2 separate regions of the Homo sapiens genome follow, and region 1 is linked to region 2. The links are contacts of gene promoters, found by promoter capture Hi-C in human tissues and cell types (Jung and others, 2019). All regions are on one chromosome and are shown on one strand. The core of a region is centred on a gene start or on the middle of the fragment in contact, and the rest is flanking DNA. Distances in the headings are between cores, read along the strand shown.

What was found. The method cuts DNA at HindIII sites, captures the fragments that hold promoters and counts their contacts. A contact is called where the count stands out against the background at its distance.
Region 1: a fragment that was not itself captured here is called in contact with the fragment with the promoter of ZP4 in region 2 in 1 of the 25 tissues and cell types used here (liver).

Annotation. Positions count from the first base shown.
Region 1 is chr1:237,850,437-237,855,135 of GRCh38, reverse strand. No RefSeq gene overlaps it. Among named protein-coding and RNA genes, the nearest start is that of ZP4, 38 kb to the left of the region's middle. RefSeq lists an enhancer at 191-752. The HindIII fragment of the contact is 4,306 bases long and covers 219-4,524 here.
Region 2 is chr1:237,888,795-237,893,535 of GRCh38, reverse strand. It overlaps ZP4 (zona pellucida glycoprotein 4), which reads left to right and starts at 2,614. Exons shown (of 12, transcript NM_021186.5): 1 at 2,614-3,075; 2 at 3,360-3,481; 3 at 3,567-3,669. The coding sequence starts at 2,901. It also overlaps the pseudogene LOC100130331. The HindIII fragment of the contact is 12,268 bases long and covers 1-4,741 here.

The sequences.
Region 1 (4,699 bases), core at 1,122-3,621, 38 kb after region 2:
CAGAACGTATTAAGTTATGGATGACTGCATAGCGATTAGAACAGGGCACTGGAAATGCAATCGACACATATACTATGAGCCCTTTTTATTTTCTATTATTTCACAAGTGGCGCAACCCTTTCTTAGGTCTTCTATCTGATCTACTCGTTTCCAGCTGAAGTTTAGAAAGATAACAAGTGATTCCCCACAGTGTTTAATGCTACTCTGGGTGTTATCAATGATTTCAAAGAACATTGAAAAATTTTCCAAAATCATTTGAACCTGCTTTCTCAAGTATGTGGCACACATTTGAACCATTAAGAGGAGTCATCAGTTGGGGAGGAATGTATGTCTTATTAAGGCTAACAGTGGTGAGATGTCCCTCTCATAAAGCATTAGGAAAGTTTGCTTAAACCACGATACGCATTTTGCCACGGTTCCATGGAAGCAAGTGACTGTCTGAAACTTCAGCCATTGACTCTGAATGCCCTTCACAGTGGGAAGCTGGATGATTTCAAAACCTGGGTGATGGAGGTAGTGAAGGAATGCTTTCTACAAAACAGAATGTTGGCCGGGGTGTGTGGCTCACGCCTGTAATCTTAGCACTTTGGGAGGCCAAGGCAGGCAAATCAGTTGAGGTCAGGAGTTCGAGACCAGCCTGGCCAACATGGTGAAACCCCGTCTCTACTAAAAATTAGCTGGGTGTGATGGCTCCCAGCTACTCGGGAGGCCGAGGCAAGATAATCACTTGAATCTGGGAGGCGGAGGTTGCAGTGGGCTGAGATCGTGCCACTGCACTCCAGCCCGGACGACAAGGCAAGACTCTATCGCAAACAAACAAACAAACCGGAATGTATTTGGGAGAATAATTTCCTTCGGCAATGTAGGAAATTATTGCAGCCTTCTGAAGTGGCTTGAATGTGATTCAACCGAGCATTTTCAAATCTTTTCAGTGTAACAAAAGTAATTTAGGTCTACATTTAAATGTGAGAAGTCCTAGAGGGCAGGCAGTTGATTTATATACTTATCACATTGTGGCTAATCATGTACTTGAAAAGCAAGAGAAAATTACATGAAGTAAGACATGCAAGTATGTAAAGGCCAGGGTGTCTTCAGAAATCAATTACTTGACTCTGGTTAAAAATCACACCGATGCTAACACAGGAGAAGGTTCATATTCAGATGTAGAGAAAACATGACCTTCACAATCTGAGCTAACAAAAGAGCACTGTGTATTGACCTGAGGCAAAACAATCCTCTAGCCTGGAAGAAATAGGAGCTAGTAACCTAATAAACTATAGGCACATGGTTGTAGTTCCATCAGCTGTGATTTCTCTACCCCTGAGGATGTTTTTAGGAAGAGTGCAACATATTAGGACAATGTCGTGGGGGTATGAGCTTCAAATGATTCAGTCTAAAGCCATAAAAAAAGTTCAAATGTATTGCAATTTCTGGAGGAGGATAAGCTTTATAGTATCTCTCTATGCTGTTTCTATTATAAGACAATGACAGCTTGGTTGAAGTTGATATTCTAGATAATGCTGTGTGGTGTTGGTGGGGGTGTGAGAAAGGCAGGAGGTTCTTCACTGAATGGATGTTTCAGTGAGGCAGGTGGCATGCATTGAAGACACAAGGTTGGTGGTAGGACAGAAATTAGAAAGGAACATTTGTGAGACTAATGCTGTTTAAATAGTACAAGAAGCGAAGACAGAAGGTAAAGTGTTGATGGAGGATAGCCAAGGTCAAAGCATTAAGAAACAATGGCAATTCAGAAAGTTTACTTTAGAGGCTGGAAGCAATATATTGACAAGAAGGTTATGCTAAAAGGACATTTGTATGAATGAGGGATGTAACTGCAAGCTGTGGATATATTTGGCTGCAACTCAATAAAAATGATTATGGATAAGAAAAGAAAGACATTTTATTCCCTGATCCAATAGTGACTCAAGTTTAACACTGGCAGCTCTGGAGTTGAAGATGTGGCAAAAAGTTTAGGATGAGCCTGACAGAAACAAGAAAAAGATGCAGGGAGGGAAGGTCCTTTGGGATGTATCTAAAAAGAAAAGCAGCCTACCAACACTTTTATTTATTATTATTTTTTGAGATAGAGTCTTGCTGTGTTACCCAGGCTGGAGTGCAGTGGCATGATCTTGGCTCATTGCAACCTCTGTCTCCGAGGTTCAAGCAATTCTCTTGCCTCAGCCTCTTGAGTAACTGGGATTACAGTTGCCTGCCACCACGTCGAGCTAATTTTTTGTATTTTTAGTAGAGATGGGGTTTCACCATATTGGCCAGGCTGGTCTCGAACCCCAACCTCAGGTGATCCACCTGCCTTGGCCTCCCAAAGTGCTGGGATTACAGGCATGAGCCACAGCTAACATATTTAAACTGTGATCCATTTCCTTCTTTACATTCTCATAAGGGACATTTTAAAAATAATTGCTTCATAATTGATTTGGGTACATTAGGTGGAAGACATGCAAATAATATGGAAGAGAAATTCCAGTTAAGGAACAAAAGAGAAGCTTTTAGAGGTTATCGGTTTCCAGGAAGCAAGTAAAATGATAAATGAATAGAAAAGACCATAAACTTCCTGTGCCAAAGGAAAGCGTCATCTCGAACACACACCATTTATTTCAAGCCCATTGTGAAGACAGCTAGAATGTAATCTCAAACCCTAACCATAATTAGATTTTGCAAAATGTTTAACTACTAAATCAACTAAAAGCACCAAGGAGAATCAATGTATTTGATTTACCATGTTTGAAACATGGATACAGACTACTAAAAAGTCTGTATGGCAAAGACTAATATTTACCGAGCATTGTTCGCGTACATACTAATATTGGTAGCTTTACCATTTAATTCTCATGACATGCAATGAGGTAAGATAATATCATCATTCTACAGAGATGGAAACTGAGATTTAAATGGGTTAGGAAATGTGCCATATTCTGTTGACCCCCGTTTCCAAAGTACCCAGCCTGGTGTCCAATAGAAAGGTATTTAGTAACTCTCTGCTAAATGAATATATTAAGTAGTGATACCTAGAATCACACCTGAAATACCTAATGCAATGCTAAGTCTTTGAGGTCTCTGCTCTATTGCTTATTACTAATACGACTGAGATGCAGTTTGAAGTGTGAATATCATAACATGAACAATCTTCAGCTGCCACCAAGACAAGCCACCTCCTTTCTTCAGTACTTTGATGGATAATCAAATGGAATATCTACCAGAATAATCCAAACAGCTATGGAGAGAGTACATAAAACTTGCAATTTAGCCCTTCCCTCTTTTCCCAACCAAAAATTAGTATCTAACTTCAAGATAGACTTAAAAAATTAGAGGAAATATACTTTAATGAAGTAGCAGCAAACCCCCAAATTTATGAATAAATTAAACTCCAAGGTATTCAACATTCAGGTAGTCATCACAGTGTTGATTTTTACTTTTTTTTAGGGCAAAAGGGTGGGGGAGAAAATTATGCTTATAGGAGATGAGTGAATGAAGCCACTTCAGAAAAGTTTTAAAATATGAGCTGAGAAACAATAAAATCAGAGTTGTGGCAAGGAGATATCCTGTCCATATTCATTTACCATCTCCTTCAAGTAAGCAGTCAACTTGTCTCAATGTGGTGCAACACGGTTGTATAATAATTATATTAGGAACAGAATGCTGATAGATACTGGAAGTGATGTCAAAGCAGCCTCACGAGTGCTCCACTGGCGCCCCCTGCTGTCTCCTCTGTAGTCATGCTATGTATCTTTAGCTCTGTTGAATTGCTTTTCCCTGGCCGATAATGCCTTTTCCCATGGTGTTAATTAGGTTGCAAAGCTCCACTACCAACACTGAAACAACTTCAGTAGAACGCAGAATTCCAAGAGAACTGTGACCCAGTTTTTATGGTCGTGTCTTTATAAGGAAAAGCCCCAAGATACTTAGGAGTTAATCCACAGCCTCATGAAGAGTAAACCAAGGCCATTCCAATGGGTGGTGCCTGGCAAGAGAGCCAAAACACCAGTCGACCAGAAAACATTTTTGTAAGATAGAGCTGGAAATTCTACTTGCATCACAAACTCAAATGGCAAGTCGTTTGTTCCTTTAACATATATTGAGCATCTATAACTTATTGAAAATTATTCTAAGCATTGCTGGATACAAGCAGAATAAAGTGGTAACATTGACTTTCAGGAGTTCACCTTCTCATAAAAAAGGTTTGCTCAAAAAAACTTTCTGGCTTGGCACAGTGGCTCACACCTGTAATCCCAGCACTTTGAGAGGCCAAGGTGGGTGGATCACCTGAGGTCAGGAGTTTGTGACCAGCCTGGCAAACATGGTGAAACCCCATCTATACTGAAAATACAAAAATTAGCCAGGTGTGGTGGTGCACACCTGTAATCCCAGCTACTCGGGAGGCTGAGGCAGGAGAATTGTTTGAACCCAGGAGGTGGAGGTTGCAGTGGGCCAAGATCATGCCACTGCACTCCAACCTGGGCAATGGAGCGAGACTCCATCTCAAAAAAAAAAAAAAGCAAAACAAAAACTTTCATTAAAGTAATATTTACAAATCTATACACAGAACCGTAGAGAGGGAATTTGTTCTTGGTGTAATGGTATGTAATGGTAGGTGACAGCCCTGATCATCTTCCCAGGGAAAACAAAAATACTAAAAATACAAAAAGCAACTTTGGTTTAAATAACTGTTTTTATTAAAGTC
Region 2 (4,741 bases), core at 1,365-3,864:
GAGGAATGAGCATAACATTACCTAACCCCAGACCTGCCTGCATTATCTTGGCATCCATCTTTGACCCTCTGCAGCATCAGAGAGATGGGTGTGATCCTAGGTGGACTTCAAGATAGCTCCACATAGTTCCAGGCTTGTGTGATTTTTCAACTTCATTATGTAAACACAGGACCTCATTTGGGAATGCAGCCTCATGAGTATAGGCTGTTCCTCAGACTCCCTGCAGATCCAATGAGTGCACTGCTTGGCATTTGCTTTCCATTTGCCACCCATCTCACCTTTATCTCCCAGGCTGGTCCTGTTGATGTTAGTGACAATGTAGCAATTATGCAACAAGCATTGTACATACATTATTTCATCTAACCGTCTGTTGTAATAATACTGTCCATGTTATTATCCCTATTTTACAGATATAAAAACTGTAACTGAGAGAAAGAGGTTAATACATTGACAGAGGTTGCAGAGTAACAGTCAGAATTTGTACCCAAGTCCACCCATTGTCAAAACTCACATGATATACTATACTATATTGCCTCCAAGTATGAGCAAAGGAAGTTACGCTCCTTGACTTTTCACCACTTTATAAAGCTGTTGGGAACAGGCCCCCCAAAATCTGGCCATAAGCTGGCCCCAAAACTGGCCATAAACAAAATCTCTGCAGCACTGTGACATGTTCGTGATGGTCGTGATGGCCATGATGCCCACGCTGCAAGGTTATGGGTCTACCGGAATAAGGGCAAGGAACCCCAGACCCACCCAGGATGGAAAACCGCTTAAAAGTGTTCTTAAACCACAAATAGCATGAGTGATCTGTGCCTTAAGGACATGCTCCTGCTGCAGATAACTAGCCAGAGCTCATCCCTTTATTTCAGCCCATCCCTTTGTTTCCCATAAGGAAGACTTTTAGTTAATCTATAATCTATAGAAACAATGCTTATCACTGGCTTGCTGTCAGTAAATATGTGGGTAAATCTCTGTTCGAGGCTCTCAGCTCTGAAGGCTGTGAGACCCCTGATTTCCCACTCTACACCTCTATATTTGTGTGTGTGTGTGTGTCTTTATTCCTCTAGCATCCCTGGGTTAGGGTCTCCCCGACTGAGCTGGTCTCAGCATAAAGCAATATTAGTAAGTCTAGTCAGGAGACTGGCCTTTTAACTCCTGAGACATCTTGCATGAGTCAAATCCTCAGATTCTTTCTTACATGTGCAATCACATGATATTTACTTGAAGGAAAAATACCTAAGGGTTATGAGTTTGAGCTCATCATAAAGGAAATGAATTTGTACCGGTGAGGTTTGGAAACTACATTTTCAAGGGGGTTAGCCCTAGGACATGGCCACTAATGAAAGCATATTCATTGATTCAGTCTTTACTCAGAGAACACTGAGTACATACATCCAAGGCACGCAGGATGCAGTGACAAATAAAAAAGTCCCTGGCCTCACGTGCTTCTAGTGGCAAACTGAATAAGAAAGAGGTCATTACAATCCAACCTGGCAAATCCTGTGAGTAAATGGCATGTAATAACCCAGTGGTGAGCACCTAATCCAGGTAGACGGTGTCAGGGAAGCCACATCTGTCTTTGAGGGCAGAGTCCAGCTTTCCTTCAATGTCATTTTTCATCATGTGGTTAAAAGGGCCACCAATTTTCCCAGGAAGACACATACTTATTTGTCCTCTGTGATGAGTTGAAGAGAACTAGAGATACCTAGTTACACATTCTCAGTGCTTTGACTACAATTTTTAGTCAACCGAAAAATATCAGTCTAAATACAATCAGGGTACAATTTGGGAATATTGGTGGCAGACTGCAGAAGACAAGTTTCCATGCTCTTGCCTCTCCAGTGGGGAATGTATCCATTTATCCCCAAATCTCTTAGAATTTCTCTACAATCTGGTCTGACACTCTAGCTTAAAGAGTGACCAAAGTATATAACTTGTAGTTTATGTGGAAAACAAAAATGTAGAAAGCAAGCAAGAAACCCTGACATCTTTATGAAATATGCCTGAAACACAGCCGAAAGATAAAATTGTCAAATAGCTGTAAGAGGCAGAACCAGTTTGAGGAATTCATGGCCTAATCCACATTTCCCCCAGATCCTGTGGGGAAACACTGTAGGACAGTTATGGCAATGAACCACTTTGGAATTTGTTGAAAGATTGCTGTGGTAGGATTCCCTCTAAGGACCAGGAAAGGGTTCAAAATCAACCTTTCTCAGGAAATAAGTTTAGATTTTTTTCTAGAATTTCAAGACAGGCTCTAATCGTACAGAAACTTTTCTAGAATGGATGGAGAAGGTGACAAGGCTTCTCAAGGGCCCCAACTCTCACCCGACAATGTTGACTGAGCACTCACTGCTTGGCCAAGCACTGTGCCAGGCACCTGACATAGAATCTCTTGCTTAATCCTCAAGCACACCACTGCCAGGAGATAGCATTCCCATTTTACAGATGAGAAAACCAAGATTCAGAGAGTTTGTAACGTACCCAGACCCCATAGTTCATAGATGGTAGTTTCACACCCAAATGTGCAAAATTCTAGAGGGAGGTCTTCTGAAGTCAATAAGTTCAATAAACTGGTGGGACAAATGCTATGTTGAGCAACCCTGAGGAAGCTTTCTTTCCTTCCTTTCTGTTAGCTAAAAGTTACTACATTTTTCTTGGGCTCTGAAGTCTGCCTGGATTGTGGTATTTAATGTGAGGCAGCTGCAGACTGTGCCCCAAAGCAAATGAGGCTAGAGGAATTCCCCTTTCTGAAGGCATCCCACCTGAGTGTCACAAAGATGTGCAGCTGAAAACAAGCCTGACTTCTGTATATAAAGGAATCTGGGCAGGCAGACCCTCGGCTCTTGGGAGAGGAGGCGGAGAGTCTGCAGCCGGCAGGAACTCCTGGTAGCATTATGTGGCTGCTGCGGTGCGTTTTGCTGTGTGTTTCATTATCTCTTGCTGTGAGTGGCCAGCATAAGCCTGAGGCACCAGATTATTCCAGTGTGCTCCACTGTGGGCCGTGGAGCTTCCAGTTTGCTGTAAACCTCAACCAGGAGGCAACGTCTCCTCCTGTACTAATAGCTTGGGGTAAGTTTGATGACTTGCCTTGCTTAGCCAAGCAATGATATGTCTCCTCTACTACCTAAGATGTCTCCCTATCTTCCCGTATTGATACTTTCACCTTCTGAGCCCTGTTGCATCTTTCTGCAAAAGAAATAGTCTAAGTTATAACTACATCTGATCTGAATCTGATTTCCCTCTTGTTCCTCTTATTGACAGTTGCTCCTTGGGGTCTAATGGCAAGGCTGACTATCCTTTCTGGCACTGGAGACTGACCGCTGTGTTTTCTCACCTCTTCCCCACCCCTCCAGACAACCAAGGGCTGCTGCACGAGCTGCAGAATGACTCCGACTGTGGCACCTGGATAAGAAAAGGTCCAGGCAGCTCCGTGGTGTTGGAGGCAACCTATAGCAGCTGCTATGTCACTGAGTGGGTGAGTATGACCCAATGGCCAGGGAGACTGTGTGAAGCGCCTCATGCTACCATCCAGGCTGACCCCCAAGGGCCTGTCTCTCCAGGACTCCCACTACATCATGCCAGTTGGAGTTGAAGGAGCAGGCGCGGCTGAACACAAGGTGGTTACAGAGAGGAAGCTGCTCAAGTGTCCTATGGATCTTCTAGGTAAAGGCTGGAAGCTCTCAGGGTCTTGTGGGGGTGGTGGGGGTGGGGTGTGAAAGTACTCTTGGTCCTCTCTGACCTGCTCTGTGCAGTGACACCTGACACTAATGAAGGAAGGATCATGTCCCAACTCTCACCTCCATGGGCAATCCTTAGGATAACTACCAATTGAGACTCCTCAATGCCAAGGCACTGTGGGTAAGCACTTCAGGTGTTACCTTCCCTAACCCTAACATAGTGCTGCAAATACTACTGCTGGCCAGGCACAGTGGCTCACACCTGTAATCACAGCACTTTGGGAGGCTGAGGCAGGTGGATCAGGTCGGGAGTTGGAGTCCAGCCTGACCAACATGGAGAAACCCCATCTCTACTAAAAACACACAATCAGCCGGGTGTGGTGGTACATGCCTGTAATCCCAGCTACTCGGGAGGCTGAGGCAGGAGAATCGCTTGAACCTGGGAGGCTGAGGTTGTGGTGAGCTGAGATCGTGCCCTTGCACTACAGCCTGGGCAACAAGAGCGAAACCCTGTCTCAAAAAAAAAAAAAAAAAAAATACAACCTATCTCTTGCCAGGAAGTTTTCCCAAGGGCCTATCACTGGTGAATGACTGAGCTGGGATTCAAAGAACTCTCCCAGAACCAGGAGCTTTTCACCCATGGGGAGAATGATAGGAAATAAAACTGAAGCTAGCAAGGGAACTTGGAAAAATACCTCCACAGAGCTAGATGTGCACTGAGACTAGGACCCAGGTCTTCCATCCCACAAGCTGGAGGGGTATCTGAGCATTTCCCTAAGGAAACAGCAGGAAGTATGATGCCTACTCAACTTTAGAAAGTCTCGCCTGACTGAGAGCCCGTCCTCAAAGTCAGAACAGACTCAAACTATAAATTCACTCTTCTCACCTGCCTTCCTTCCCAATACATAGCCAGGATGGGCAGCACTAATAAAATGAGGAATCATAGGCCCCACCCCAGTTCTGAACCAGACCTGAACTCAAAAACAATCTTCAGATAACTCATATCCAAACTAAGGCTTGAGAAACGCCTCTAAAGAACAGAAGGAAGGATTGTTACT